3 separate regions of the Homo sapiens genome follow, and all the other regions are linked to region 3. The links are contacts of gene promoters, found by promoter capture Hi-C in human tissues and cell types (Jung and others, 2019). All regions are on one chromosome and are shown on one strand. The core of a region is centred on a gene start or on the middle of the fragment in contact, and the rest is flanking DNA. Distances in the headings are between cores, read along the strand shown.

The links. The method cuts DNA at HindIII sites, captures the fragments that hold promoters and counts their contacts. A contact is called where the count stands out against the background at its distance.
Region 1: a contact is called between a fragment that was not itself captured here and the fragment with the promoter of ZNF829 in region 3, in 1 of the 25 tissues and cell types used here (dorsolateral prefrontal cortex).
Region 2: a fragment that was not itself captured here is called in contact with the fragment with the promoter of ZNF829 in region 3 in 1 of the 25 tissues and cell types used here (dorsolateral prefrontal cortex).

What each region holds. Positions count from the first base shown.
Region 1 is chr19:37,501,372-37,505,808 of GRCh38, reverse strand. All of the region lies in intron 2 of ZNF793-AS1 (ZNF793 antisense RNA 1), which reads left to right. Among named protein-coding and RNA genes, the nearest start is that of ZNF793, 3.3 kb to the left of the region's middle. The HindIII fragment of the contact is 3,954 bases long and covers 141-4,094 here.
Region 2 is chr19:37,723,636-37,727,773 of GRCh38, reverse strand. No RefSeq gene overlaps it. Among named protein-coding and RNA genes, the nearest start is that of ZNF607, 5.9 kb to the right of the region's middle. The HindIII fragment of the contact is 5,602 bases long and covers 1-4,138 here.
Region 3 is chr19:36,914,942-36,918,967 of GRCh38, reverse strand. It overlaps ZNF829 (zinc finger protein 829), which reads left to right and starts at 2,677. Exons shown (of 6, transcript NM_001037232.4): 1 at 2,677-2,957; 2 at 3,717-3,838; 3 at 3,946-4,003. The coding sequence starts at 3,801. ZNF568 (zinc finger protein 568) reads right to left here and starts at 2,636. Exons shown (of 7, transcript NM_198539.4): 1 at 2,377-2,636; 2 at 1,320-1,389. RefSeq lists enhancers at 2,552-2,931, 2,992-3,041. The HindIII fragment of the contact is 11,398 bases long and covers 1-4,026 here.

The DNA of each region.
Region 1 (4,437 bases), core at 868-3,367, 590 kb before region 3:
TGAAAATGGCTTTTTAAAAAAATCCTAATTCCAACTGGTCATCCTAGCAACTGATACAATAACTGACCTCAAAATGTTTCCCAATGATTCCTACCTCCTACTATTCACACTCTTATGTAGTTCCCTCCCACATTGTACCAGGGTTGGACTGTGAGACTAATAGAATGCAGTAGCAGTGATAGATGTCACTGCTGAGATTAAATATAATAAATGGCACCTTGAGTTCTGTCTTAAAGGCTGCTGCCCCCACTTTGAGAGAAGTTAGTTGCCATGTCATGAGGATACCGAGACAGCCTATGGAGAGGCCCAGGTAGCAAGGAACTAAGCCCTCCACCCAATAGCCTGGGAGTAGCTGGGGCCTTCCTATAACCAAGTGTATCACCCTTGGAAGCACATCTCCCAGCCCCAGTCAAACCTTGAGATGACAGCAGCCCCTGCCAATAGTTTGACTGCAACTGCGTGAGAGACACAGTCACAAGCACTCAGCTATAGCAGCTCCTATATTCCTCACCCTCAGAAAGTGTGTAAGATACTACATGTTTGTTGTTTTAAGCTTCTGAGTTTAGGGTAATTTGCTATGCATCAGTAGATAACTTCAATGCTGTGTTAAAATGCTACAATTGACATTTCTTCTTTTTTTTTTTTTTTGAGACGGAGTTTCGCTCTTGTTGCCTAGGCTGGAGTGCATTGGTGCAATTTCAGCTCACCGCAACCTCTGCCTCCCGGGTTCAAGCGATTCTCCTGCCTCAGCCTCCTGAGTAGCTGGGATTACAGGCATGCACCACCACGCCAGGCTAATTTTGTATTTTTAGTAGAGACGGGGTTTCTCCATGTTGGTCAGGCTGGTCTCGAACTCCCGACCTCAGGTGATCCGCCTGCCTCGACCTCCCAAAGTGCTGGGACTACAGGTGTGAGCCACCGCGCCCAACCCCATTTCTGAATTCTTTAAATAAAGTTCCTAAAGTTGCGAGATTATTCTGTCAGAGGAGATTATTACCAGTTTCCTCTTCTTCCTTGCGATGGAAAAATTAAAGGCCTATGGCTCTGCTAGATTTTTAAAATTTAACAAAGAGGTCAAGGGTCCTTGCTTCATTTGATTTAATATAAGTGGTTTATATGACAACACTTTGAAGTGATTATAGTAATTAATTTAAAATCACCATTTAGGCTGGGCATGGTAGCTCACACATGTAATTCCAGCACTTTGAGAAGCCAAGGTGGGCAGATCACCTGAGGTCAGGAGTTCAAGACCAACCCGGCCAACATGTTGGAACCCCGTCTCTACTAAAAATACAAAAATTAGCCGGCATGGTGGACGCCTATAATTCCAGCTGCTCGGGAGGCTGAGGTAGGAGAATCACTGAACCCAGGAGGTGGAGGTTTCAGTGGGCCAAGATTGTGCCATTGCACTCCAGCCTGGGTGAGACTCTGTCTCTAAAAAAACAAAAATAATAATATTGAAGTAAAATGAGTATTTATAAAGTGCCTATTAAATGCCTGATTGATCACTGGCCTGCTCACTTCAAGGGCTGTTCTTATTCTAGGATTAGACCAATAAAGCAGCCACAACTGGTAAATTGTCACTCATGAAGGCCGAGGGAAAGACAGCCTTTGAGGGTCTTTTGCTGGGAATTAAACGTTCTGCCTCAAAAACTATACATGTCATTTCCATTCACTAGTCTTTGAGACGTCACATGGCCACCCAGGAGTGTGATAGCAGACATGTAATCCTACCATAATTCTGGGATGGGAAGAGCTGGCGATATTTTGGAATAACATTAAAGACTGCCACAAACATTGTAAAGATAGTGTTATCATCACGCTTCAAAAGAAACTGCAACACGGGGGTGAGGTGACCTGTCCGTAATCATTCAGTGAGTAAATAAAGCAACAAGGATTCAGAGCTGGGTGTTTCTGTGTTATTCAGAAGTAAAGGATCATTAGCATCATTATTAAATTTTACCCAAAATTTATTAGAACCTAAATATATCTCAGCAACTGAATTGGGAAAAAGAAGACTGAGTACTCGAGTAAAAATAGAGGCTACTCAAGGAGCTGACCTCTTGATTGGGGAAGGAGTACACATGGAAAGAGGAAACAGGTAAAAGAAGAGTACACACTGTAGGACTCCAGTCATGAGAAACTCAAGAACAGGCAAAACAGATCTATTGAGTTATAAATCAGAAAGCAGTTGACTCCAGGGGCTATTTTTTTTTTTTTTTTTTTTTTTTCTGAGACAGAGTCTCTACTCTGTCTCCCAGGCTGGAGTGCAGTGGTGAGATCTCCATCTCGGCCCACTGCAACCTCCTTCCAGGTTCAAGTGATTCTCGTGCCTCAGCCTCCCAGGTAGCTGGGATTACAGGCATGCGCCATCACACCCGGCTAATTTTTGTATTTTTAGTAGAGATGGCGTTTCACCATCTTAGCCAGGCTGGTCTCAAACTCCTGACCTCAAGCGATCCGCATGCCTCAGCCTCCCAAAGTGCTGGGATTACAGGCGTAAGCCACTGTGCCTGGCTGGGGCTATGACTTCGAAGATAATTTAGGGGGTGAGGAAAATGTTCTATGTCTTGTTTTATGTGGTAGTTTCATGGGCCTACGTAATTGTCAAAGACTCATCAAAGTGAACACTTATTTGTGTTATTATATGTAAATTATACCTTCATTTTTAAAAGAAAAAGCATACTATTCAGAGTATTGAGTAATGATGTGGGCCAGGGAACAGAGGGAGTGAGAAAAGAAGTAACAGAACTTTATCATAGTCTGCAGAAAGATAGGACCCTGCCAAGGTCATCATTAGCATTTATGGCCTATGACAGTGTGATTCCTCTAGGCAGAGGAATTCGAGAAAGGAGCCTCTAGGCAGACTAGCTCCAAGGCTCTGGGCTAACCCAACCTGCAGTGACCATCAGCTCTCACCTGTTCCAGTGAGCTTATGCCTATAGGTCCAAGCCTTGAACTAAATGTGGTGGCCCTAGACACTGTCATCATTTAAAAGGGTACAGGGCCCCAAATTTGGCCTAAAAGGAGGCACAGCGCTTCCTTGCTCTGGAGCAGAAAGGACCTTACCTGGGCCTGAGTGTTGTTTGTTGTGGGGGAAAGAAAAATAGATCAGACTGTTATTGTGTTTATGTAGAGAAAGGAAGACATAAGAAACTTCATTTTGATCTGTACTAAGAGAAATTCTTCTGCCTTGAGATGCTGTTAATCTGTAACCCTAGCCCCAACCCTGTGCTTGCAGAAACAGGTGCTGTATTGACTCAAGGTTTAATGGATTTAGGGCTGTGCAGGATGTGCTTTGTGAAAAATGTGTTTGCAGGCAGTATGCTTGGTAAAAGTCATCACCAATCTCCAGTCTCGAGTACCCAGGGACACAATACACTGAGGAAGGCCACAGGGACCTCTGCCCAAGAAAGCCTGGGTATTGTCCAAGATTTCTTCCCATGTGATAGCCTGAGATATGGCCTCCTGGGAAGGGAAAGACCTGACCATCCCCCAGCCCGACACCCGTAAAGGGTCTGTGCTGAGGAGGATTAGTGAAAGAGGAAGCCCTCTTTGCAGTTGAGATAAGAGGAAGGCATCTGTCTCCTGCTCGTCCCTGGGAATGGAATGTCTCATAAAACCTGATCATACATTCTATTTACCGAGATAGGAGAAAACCGCCTTGTGGTTGCTGAGACATGCTGGTGGCAATACTCTTTACTGCACTGAGATGTTCGTGTAAAGTTAAACATAAATCTGGCCTACGTGCACATCAAGGCACAGCACCTTTCCTTAAACTTATTTATGACACAGAGTCCTTTGCTCACGTTTTCCTGCTGACCCTCTCCCCACCATTACCCTATAGTCCTGCCACATGCCCCTCTCCGAGATGGTCAACATAGTGATCAATAAATACTGAGGGAATTCAGAGACTGGGGCCAGCGCGGGTCCTCTGTATGCTGAGCGCTGGTCCCCTGGGCCCACTTTTCTTCCTCTATACTTTGTGTCTTATTTCTTTTCTCAGTCTCTCGTCTCCACCTTGCAAGAAATACCCACAGGTGTGGAGGGGCAGGCCCCCTTCAGTTTGTTGCTGTTTTTTTTTTATTTTTATTTTTTGGTGTTTTGTCTGGTTTAGTTTGGCTTTTTGGTTTTTTTTTTTTTTTTTTTTTTAGAGACAGGATCTTACTCTGTTGCCCAGGCTAGAGTGCAGTGGCACAATCATGGCTCACTGCAGCCTTGAACTCCTGGCCTCAAGTGATCCCCCTGCCTCAGCCTCCCAAGTAGCTGGGACTACTGGTACACACCACCATGCCCAGCTAATTTATTTTTATTTTTATTTTTTTGTAGAGATGGGGTCTTGCCATCTTTCCCAGGCTGTGGCCTGAGTGTCAATAGGGCTGTATCTTGGCATGAGTGTAGGGTGCTCTGGATCTGGGTGGGATGTGACCATCTCCT
Region 2 (4,138 bases), core at 564-3,063, 810 kb before region 3:
AGATCTGCACTGTCAGGTAGATACAGTAGCCACCAGCTACACGTGGCCATTTTAAATTAATTTAAATTTAATAAGGCATAAAATTGAGTTCACCAGTAGGACTAGTCACAGTTAAGTGTTCAATAGCCATGTGTATTGGACTTTACAGATACAGTAGTCCCCTCTTTATCTAATGTTTCCTTGTTGTTAATCTCTTGCTGTGCCTAATTTATAAATTAAACTTTATCATAAGTACATATGTTTAGTAAAAAAATAGGATGGTTTGGTGCCATCCTTGGTTTCAGGCTTCCCCTGGGGGTCTTGGAACATAACCCCTGCAGATAAGAGGGAGACTACTGTATACAATGTTTCCATTATTAGAAAACTTTCTATTAGGAATATTCTGAATACTTATATTCTATTCAGATAAAAAATAATCTTATGGATTTAACCAATGAAATATTGCCAAGCACTTAATTATCATTTGCAAAATTAATTGAGCAATGTTAGGTATATATTAAAAATCATAGGCTGGGTGTGGTGGCTCACGCCTTTAATTCCAGCACTTTGGGAGGCCGAAGAGGGAGGATTACTTGAAGTCAGGAGTTCAAGAACAGCCCTGGCAACATAGTGAGACCCTGTGTCTACAAAAAAAAATTTTTTTTAATTAGGCATACTGGTGCATGCCTGTAGTACCAGCTACTCTGGAGGCCAAGGCAGGAGGATTGCTTGATCCTAGGAGTTTGAGATTGCAGTGAGCTATGATGGCACTACTGCACTCTATCCTGGGCAATAGAGTGAGAACCTGTCTCTAAAAAAGCAAAGAAAAGTCGTTAATTTTTAGCAGATACTTGAAAGCATCTTTTTTTTTTCTTTGAGACGGAGTCTCGCTCTGTGGCCCAGGCTGGAATGCAGTGGCATGATCTCGGCTCACTGCAAGCTCCATCTCCCAGGTTCACACCATTCTCCTGCCTCAGCCTCCCGAGTAGCTGGGATTACAGGTGCCCATCACCTTGCCCGGCTAATTTTTTTATTTTTAGTAGAGACGGGGTTTCACCATGTTAGCCAGGATGGTCTCAATCTCCTGACCTCGTGATCCGCCCGCCTTGGCCTCCCAAAGTGCTGGGATTACAGGCTTGAGCCACCACGCCCGGTCTGAAAGCATCTTAAATATTTTAAAGTGGAAACAATATGCAAAAAAGTTGTAATATTGATTTATATTTTATTTTTTTGAGACGGAGTCTCACTCTGTTGCCCAGGCTGGAGTGCAGTGGTGCGATCTTGGCTCACTGCAACCTCCGCCTCCCGGGTTCAAGCAATTCTCTGCCTCAGCCTCCCAAATAGCTGGATTACAGGTGTCCGCCACCACACCTGGCTAATTTTTTGTATTTTTAGTAGAGACAGGGTTTCACCATCTTGGCCAGGCTGGTCTTGAACTCCTGGCCTTGTGATCCACCCGCCTTGGCCTCCCAAAGTGCTGGGGTTACAGGCGTGAGCCACTGTGCCTGGCTATTCTTACTATTTTTATGCACTTATGTTCTATTCCTTCCTATTTTTCTCTCTACAGTTAATGGTAATTGAGCAATTTTTAGATACTCCTCTAGTTTCCATGGTCTTCACTGAGACACACGCATGCAAAGACGTAATCACAAAAAAAGAAAGCTTTACCATGTGGATTATCAACCACATGTTTCTTGATCAGGGCCTTGGTCTTGGTGATCTTATGGAAGAGATCATTAAGTGTTTTTCTTTTAGCTTTTTCTTCTTAAATAAGCATTATTGAGATAAAGCAAGATATAATTTTAGGCTGAACACAGTGGCTCACTCCTGTAATCCCCACATTTTGGGAAGCCAAGGTGGGAGGATCCTTTGAGCCCAGGAGTTTGAGACAAGGCTGGAGAACAAAACAACAAGACTCATCTCTACAAAAAGTAAAAAAAAAAATTGCCAGGCATGGTGGCATGCACCTGTAGTCCCAGTTACTCGGGAAGCTGAGGCAAGAGGATCGCTTGAGCCAGGAGTTTGAGGCTGCCATGAGGGCACCACTGCACGTTAGCCTGGACTACAAAGCAAGACCCTATCTCAAAAAAAAAAAAATTAAAATTTTGCTTACTTTTAAGATATAATAACAGGGTAGGATGTACCCTCCCATCTCAATAATTTTTAAAAATATATAGAATGACAGTTTTCAGACACTGAACAACAAGCAGACCACAATCCCCATTTGCAGAAACCACCAAGGTGAGCTCTATTATTTCTCCCAACTTAACATCTGGAGTATTTTCAGTCCATTGCTCAGGGAGAGTTAACAGAAGCAGAGCCCAGTGTTCTTCCCGAATTGAGACACAAACTTGAGGATTTGCAGAAGCCAGGGTATGTGGAACAAAGTACTAGACAGGAACAACCTCCATGAAGAGATCTCTGGAGCGCTGCCAGGGAGTTCCCTTTGAATCTTCAGCTGAAAGTACTGACCAGTTAGCTATATGTGAAAACACCTGAAGCTGTGGAAAAACCCACTTGAAATGAATAGAGGGAATAATCCTCATAGCTCAAACAAGTCCAGGAATAGCAGGTGTTACCAATAGCCAAAGTGGAAAAACCCTCATAATTCACAAGACCTCGGATACTCAGAAGTATACTGTCTTAAGAGAGAGGAAAAATCAGCTTTGGACTAATTAGTCTTGCTCTGGTCCTGCCTTATCAAAGCTGAAAAAGAACCCATGAAAAAGATCAAACTGTTTTCAAGTTACGTGAACTATATTTCAAAACAAAGCTCAAAAATATTGAAAAATATACCAGAATACCTGGCAAGGTAACATTTCAATGTTTAGCATCCAATCAAAAGTTACAAGACGGGTGGGTGCAGTGGCTCACGCCTGTAATCCCAGCACTTTGGGAGGCTGAGGTGGGCAGATCATCTGAGGTTGGGAGTTCCAGACCAGCCTGACCAAAACGAAGAAAACCCGTTTCTACTAAAAATACAAAAAATTAGTCGGGCCTGGTGGTGCATGCCTGTAATCCCAGCTACTCGGGAGGCTGAGGCAGGAGAATCACTTGAACCCGGGGAGGTGGAAGTTGCAGTGAGCAGAGATCACACCATTACAATCCAGCCTGGGCAACAAGATCGAGACTCTGTCTCAAAAAAAGAAAAAAAAAAAGGTTACAAGACATGCAAAGGACCAGGAAAACATGACACATAACGAGGAGCAAAATTGATTAATCAAAATTGTCTCACGTATTAGAATTGACAGGTTATCAGAATAATTATAATGATATTTCATATGTTGACAAAGGTAGACCAAAATATAAGCACTTTTTTTTTCTTTTTTTTTTTAAAGACAGGGTATCACTCTTTGGCCCAGACTGGAGTGCAGTGGCCCAGTCATGGCTCACTGCAGCCTCGACCTCTTGAGCTCAGTTGATCTTCCCACCTCAGCCTCCCTGGTAGCTGGGACTGCAGGCATGCACCACCATGCCCAGCTAATTTTTTGTATTTTCTAGTAGAGACAGGGTCTTGCTTTAGCCTCTCAAACTGCTGGGATTACATGTGTAAGCCACTGCACCTGGCTGAAATATAAGCACTTTTAGGAGAATCATGGGAGATGTTTTTTTAAACCACATTAAACATCCACAAATGAAAACTACAATGTCTGAGATGTAAAATACTCTGGAGAAATGATTAGATATTGCAGGAAAAGGATTAGTAAGCTTAAAAATTTTCCCAATTGGTGAAAACTGTAGACTTACAAATTGAAGCAACTCAGTGAATTCTAATCACAAGAAATGTAGAAATCTAAACAAAGACTGATCATAATCTAATTGCTTTAAAATAGTGATAAAGAGTAAGTCAGCAGAGAAAGGAGACTACATAGAGAGGAACAAATGCAAGAATAAAAGTATTTCTTGTTGAAACCAACATAACCTAGAAGACAGTTGAGCAAAATTCTTGTATAGCGCAGAAATGAAAAATGTTACCTTGAATTCTATACAATGTGAAAATACTTTTGTACGAAGGTGAAAATTTGTGGATGTCTGATTTTTTTAGACATCTAAAAGATGAGAGGATTGATGCTTTCCTACACTCTAAGAAATGTTAAGGTTCTTCAGACAAATGGAAAGTGATATCAGATGGAAATTTGGACCTACATAGGAAATGACT
Region 3 (4,026 bases), core at 1,428-3,927:
GAGGAAATTCCAATACATGCTAACATGGATGAATCTTGAGGACGTTATGCTAAGTTAAATCAGGGTCACAAAAGCACAAACAACATATGATTCTGCTTATATGAAGTATTTAGAATAGTCAAATTCAGAGACAGAAAGTAGAATGGTAGATGCCATAGGCCGGGGGAAAGGGGGGTACAGAGTTATTGTTTGATAGGTACTGGGTTTCTGTTTTGCAAGAAGAAGAGTTCTCTGGCTGGATGGTGGTGACGGTACCATAACAATGTGAATGTACTTCATGCCACTGAACTGTACACTTATATATGGTTTAGATGGTAAATTCTATGTTGTGTATTTTACCACAATTAAATATACATGTGTGTATACATAGTTGGTCCTCCTTATCCACAGGTTCTGCATCCTCAGATTCAATCAGCCTCAGATAAAAAATACAGTTAGGCCTACTACAGTTGTGTCTGTACTGAACACGTACAGTACAGATTTTTTTCTCATTATTCCCTAAACAATAACGTGTAACAATGATTTACACAGCATTTACATTATATTAGGTATTACAAATAATCTAGAGATGATTTAATGTATAAAGAAGGATGTAGGGACTTGAGCATCTGTGGATTCTGGTATCCATGGGGGGTCTTGAAACCAACCCCTCCTGGATACGAACTGTATATAGAATAAATGAGCTACTACTACTAATTTGGGGATTTAAAACTAGAAGAGAATAGGCTGGGCATGGTGGCTTACGCCTGTAATCCCAGCACTTTGGGAGGCTGAGGTCGGCAAATCACGAGGTCAGGAGATCTACCATGGTGGCTAACATGGTGAAACCCTGTCTCTGCTAAAAATACAAAAAATCAGCCGGGCGTGGTGGCGCGTCTGTAGTCCCAGCTACTCGGGAGGCTGAGGCAGGAGAATCGCTTGAACTCGGGAGGCGGAGTTTGCAGTGAGCCGAGACCGTGCCACTGCACTCCAGCCTGGGTGACAGAGCGAGACTCCGTCTCAAAAAAACAAAACAAAACAACAACAACAACAAAAACTAGAAGAAAATAATATATGAGACAAGAATAACACAGAAATTGGTGGATATTTTGGAGTTCAAGTATTTTAAAGTCTTAAGGTTGAGTTTTGTTAAGCATGCATATTAAAAAAGGATAATAGCAGAAACCAACCTAGGGGAGAAAAAGGGATAAGGTGAATTTGCACAATAAAAAAAGATATATGTGCAACTATTATATGTCAATCAAAAATGTTTAAGGCGTAATAGAAAATAAAACATTTTTTATGAGCAATCATGATAAATGCCACTGAACTATACTCACCTATTAAAATAACAGTCAAACAAGATAAACGGATGTAAGCCCAGCAATATGCTCTTTACAAGACACAGATCTGAAACATAAAGACACAAGGGGGTTAGAAAATGAAATTCTTAAGAAATACAATAAAACTTGAAAAGCAATATTATCAGACAAAAGAGAACCCGGACTAAAAGGCATTCACCAGGATAAAGAGGTATGTTTCTTAAGGTGGTAGACTGGAATTTTAGTCCAATTCCTCACACCCTCTAATAGATTATTATTCATACTCTTTGCGAGGTAACTTTGCTCTCCAACTGTGGGCATAATTGATTTTAGGCTTAGCCATGTGACTTGCTCTGGTTGAGGCAATCTCTCTTGCGCTCTGGTGACCCATCAGGAGCAGAGCATGCCCTGGCAACAAATGTCCTTTTGGCCTGAGACCCTGAAAGAACACATGCGGCGCAGATCTTAACTCGTCACGCAGCCTATCCACTCAGCCAAGCCCCACCTAGATCAGCTGAACACAGTCAATGCGCAAGCCTGTGAACAGGAGAGTAAGGACTTGCTGTTGTATGGCATTGAGTTCAGGGGTGGTTTTTAGACATAATTATTATCATGGCAATAGCTAACTAACATACATAAAAGCAGCAAGTCATAAGATAATAATGAACCTGAAAAGTTCGCCAAGGAATAGTGGAAAATTACAAAGGGCCAAGGGCTACTAGGGTAAAAAAGACAGCAAAGAAGACTACAGAGGAGTGGCCAACAAGGAGGGAGGATCAGTAGAAAACAAATAAGTGTTTTTCAAGCCGTTACCAACTGTGCCAAATGCTACAGAAAAGCCAGCTCAAGACAAGAACTACTAGACATATTACAATCACGCACACTTCGCCACGTTCACACTCGCTACAGCCTTAATCATAATCACACACATATCACACATTTCATCATAATCCCGCGCAACCAAATATCACAATCACCCCATCAGATTATTCGTGCCGTCACACTCACACACACAACCACACACCCACACTAACTCCCATCACAGTTTTTTGTCCCATCAACTGCAACCACTCACCATTAGCGTACCCTGAGCACTCCCCACTGCCGCTACTCGGGACACTCTGGGCCTTAGAGGATCCGTGTCCCGTCAACCGCGAGTCCCTTGCTCGCCCCCTGCTGCGGGGACTCGGCAGCGTCACCTGCCGGAAACACCCGAATGTTCATCCCGCGCGCAGTTTCTGAGATGCTGGGTGAAGGCGACCCGCAGATAGGTCTGTGACAGACGCCTAAAGCGCCGAACCATCCCTCCGCGCCAGCGACGTTTCCGAGGACAACACCTCCCAGCAGGCCCCGCGGCCCCACTCAACTTCCGGCCAGAACACATCTGCTTTCCTGTGTGAGGGTGAGGCTTGGGCCGGGTTCCCCGGGAGGCTCATCTCCATTGCGCAGCGCTACGGCGACCCGCAACTCCGAGGCTCGGCTGGATGTTGAGAGTTGAGGGAGCAGCCGTTTCGGGTGGGCCCAGGCGAGGAGCTGACAGGAATCGGCGTGGGTCCCGCTCTGGACTACATTTCCCAGAGGGCCTGGTGGCCTGCCACTTTTCTCGCAGGAATTCGAACGTTTCGTCACTCCTGGCGGGACCCTTAGATCTGGGAGGTGAGATATTTTGGTCCCCAGGAGAACTGGCTCAGGTCTGCAAGTTCCCATCCGGGATGACTGGAAAGGGCTTAGGTGAGGATACCGAAGACCGATGGGGAGCTGGCGCCTTGGGCCCCTGCGGGCGGAGCGGCCTGAAAGGTGGAGGTTGTGTTTGGGAGGCCGAGGCAGGAGGATCACGAGGTCAAGAGATCGAGACCATCCTGGCCAACATGGTGAAACCCCATCTCTACTAAAAATACAAAAATTAGCTAGGCATGGTGGCGCGCGCCTGTAATCCCAGCTACTCGCAGGCTGAGGCAGGAGAATCACTTGAACCCGGGAGGCGGAGGTTGCAGTGAGCCGAGATCGCACCACTGCACTCCAGCCTGGCGACAGGGCAAGACTCTGTCCCCACCCCACCCCACCCCCCCAAAAAAAGAGGGGAGGTTGTGAAATTGTCTGGGAGATAATAACACTGCGGCTTATGTGCGGATATGGGATACCTGTCACTGTGGGGGTTGTGGCTGTGTGTTCCCGTGGTGATGTGTGATTGTGACTCTGCGACAGTGTGGGGTGCCTACGATTGTGCAGCTGTAATTGTGTGTTTCCTATGGTGTGTATGTGATTGTAACTGTGTTGCCGTGTGTGGCTCCTTGTGGGCAGGTGAGACGTGCATGTCGCCTTAAGTGTGACTGTCCCTAAATGTATGTGGCATTCTGTGTATGAGTATGGGGTCCTGTCAACTATGCGATTGTGACTCCAGAACTCTGTCTCTAGGAAACCTCTCTGAGGTCTGGTCAGATTCCAACCCTGGACAGCAGTGAACACAACCTTTCCCCTGAGCCACTGGAATTGGACAGAATGCCCCATTCTCCTCTGATCTCCATTCCTCATGTGTGGTGGGTAATGGGGCTGGGGAAGAACTCTTACTTGACTAATCTGGGTACCAAGAAAAACCTGGTGTCTCACAGTTACTCTTCCCTCTCCCAATTTTACCTTTCTCCAGGTGTCACCCAGAAGAGGAGGAAAGAATGCATGATGAACTTCTACAAGCAGTATCCAAGGTGTGTTGGGGTTTCCTCTTTTT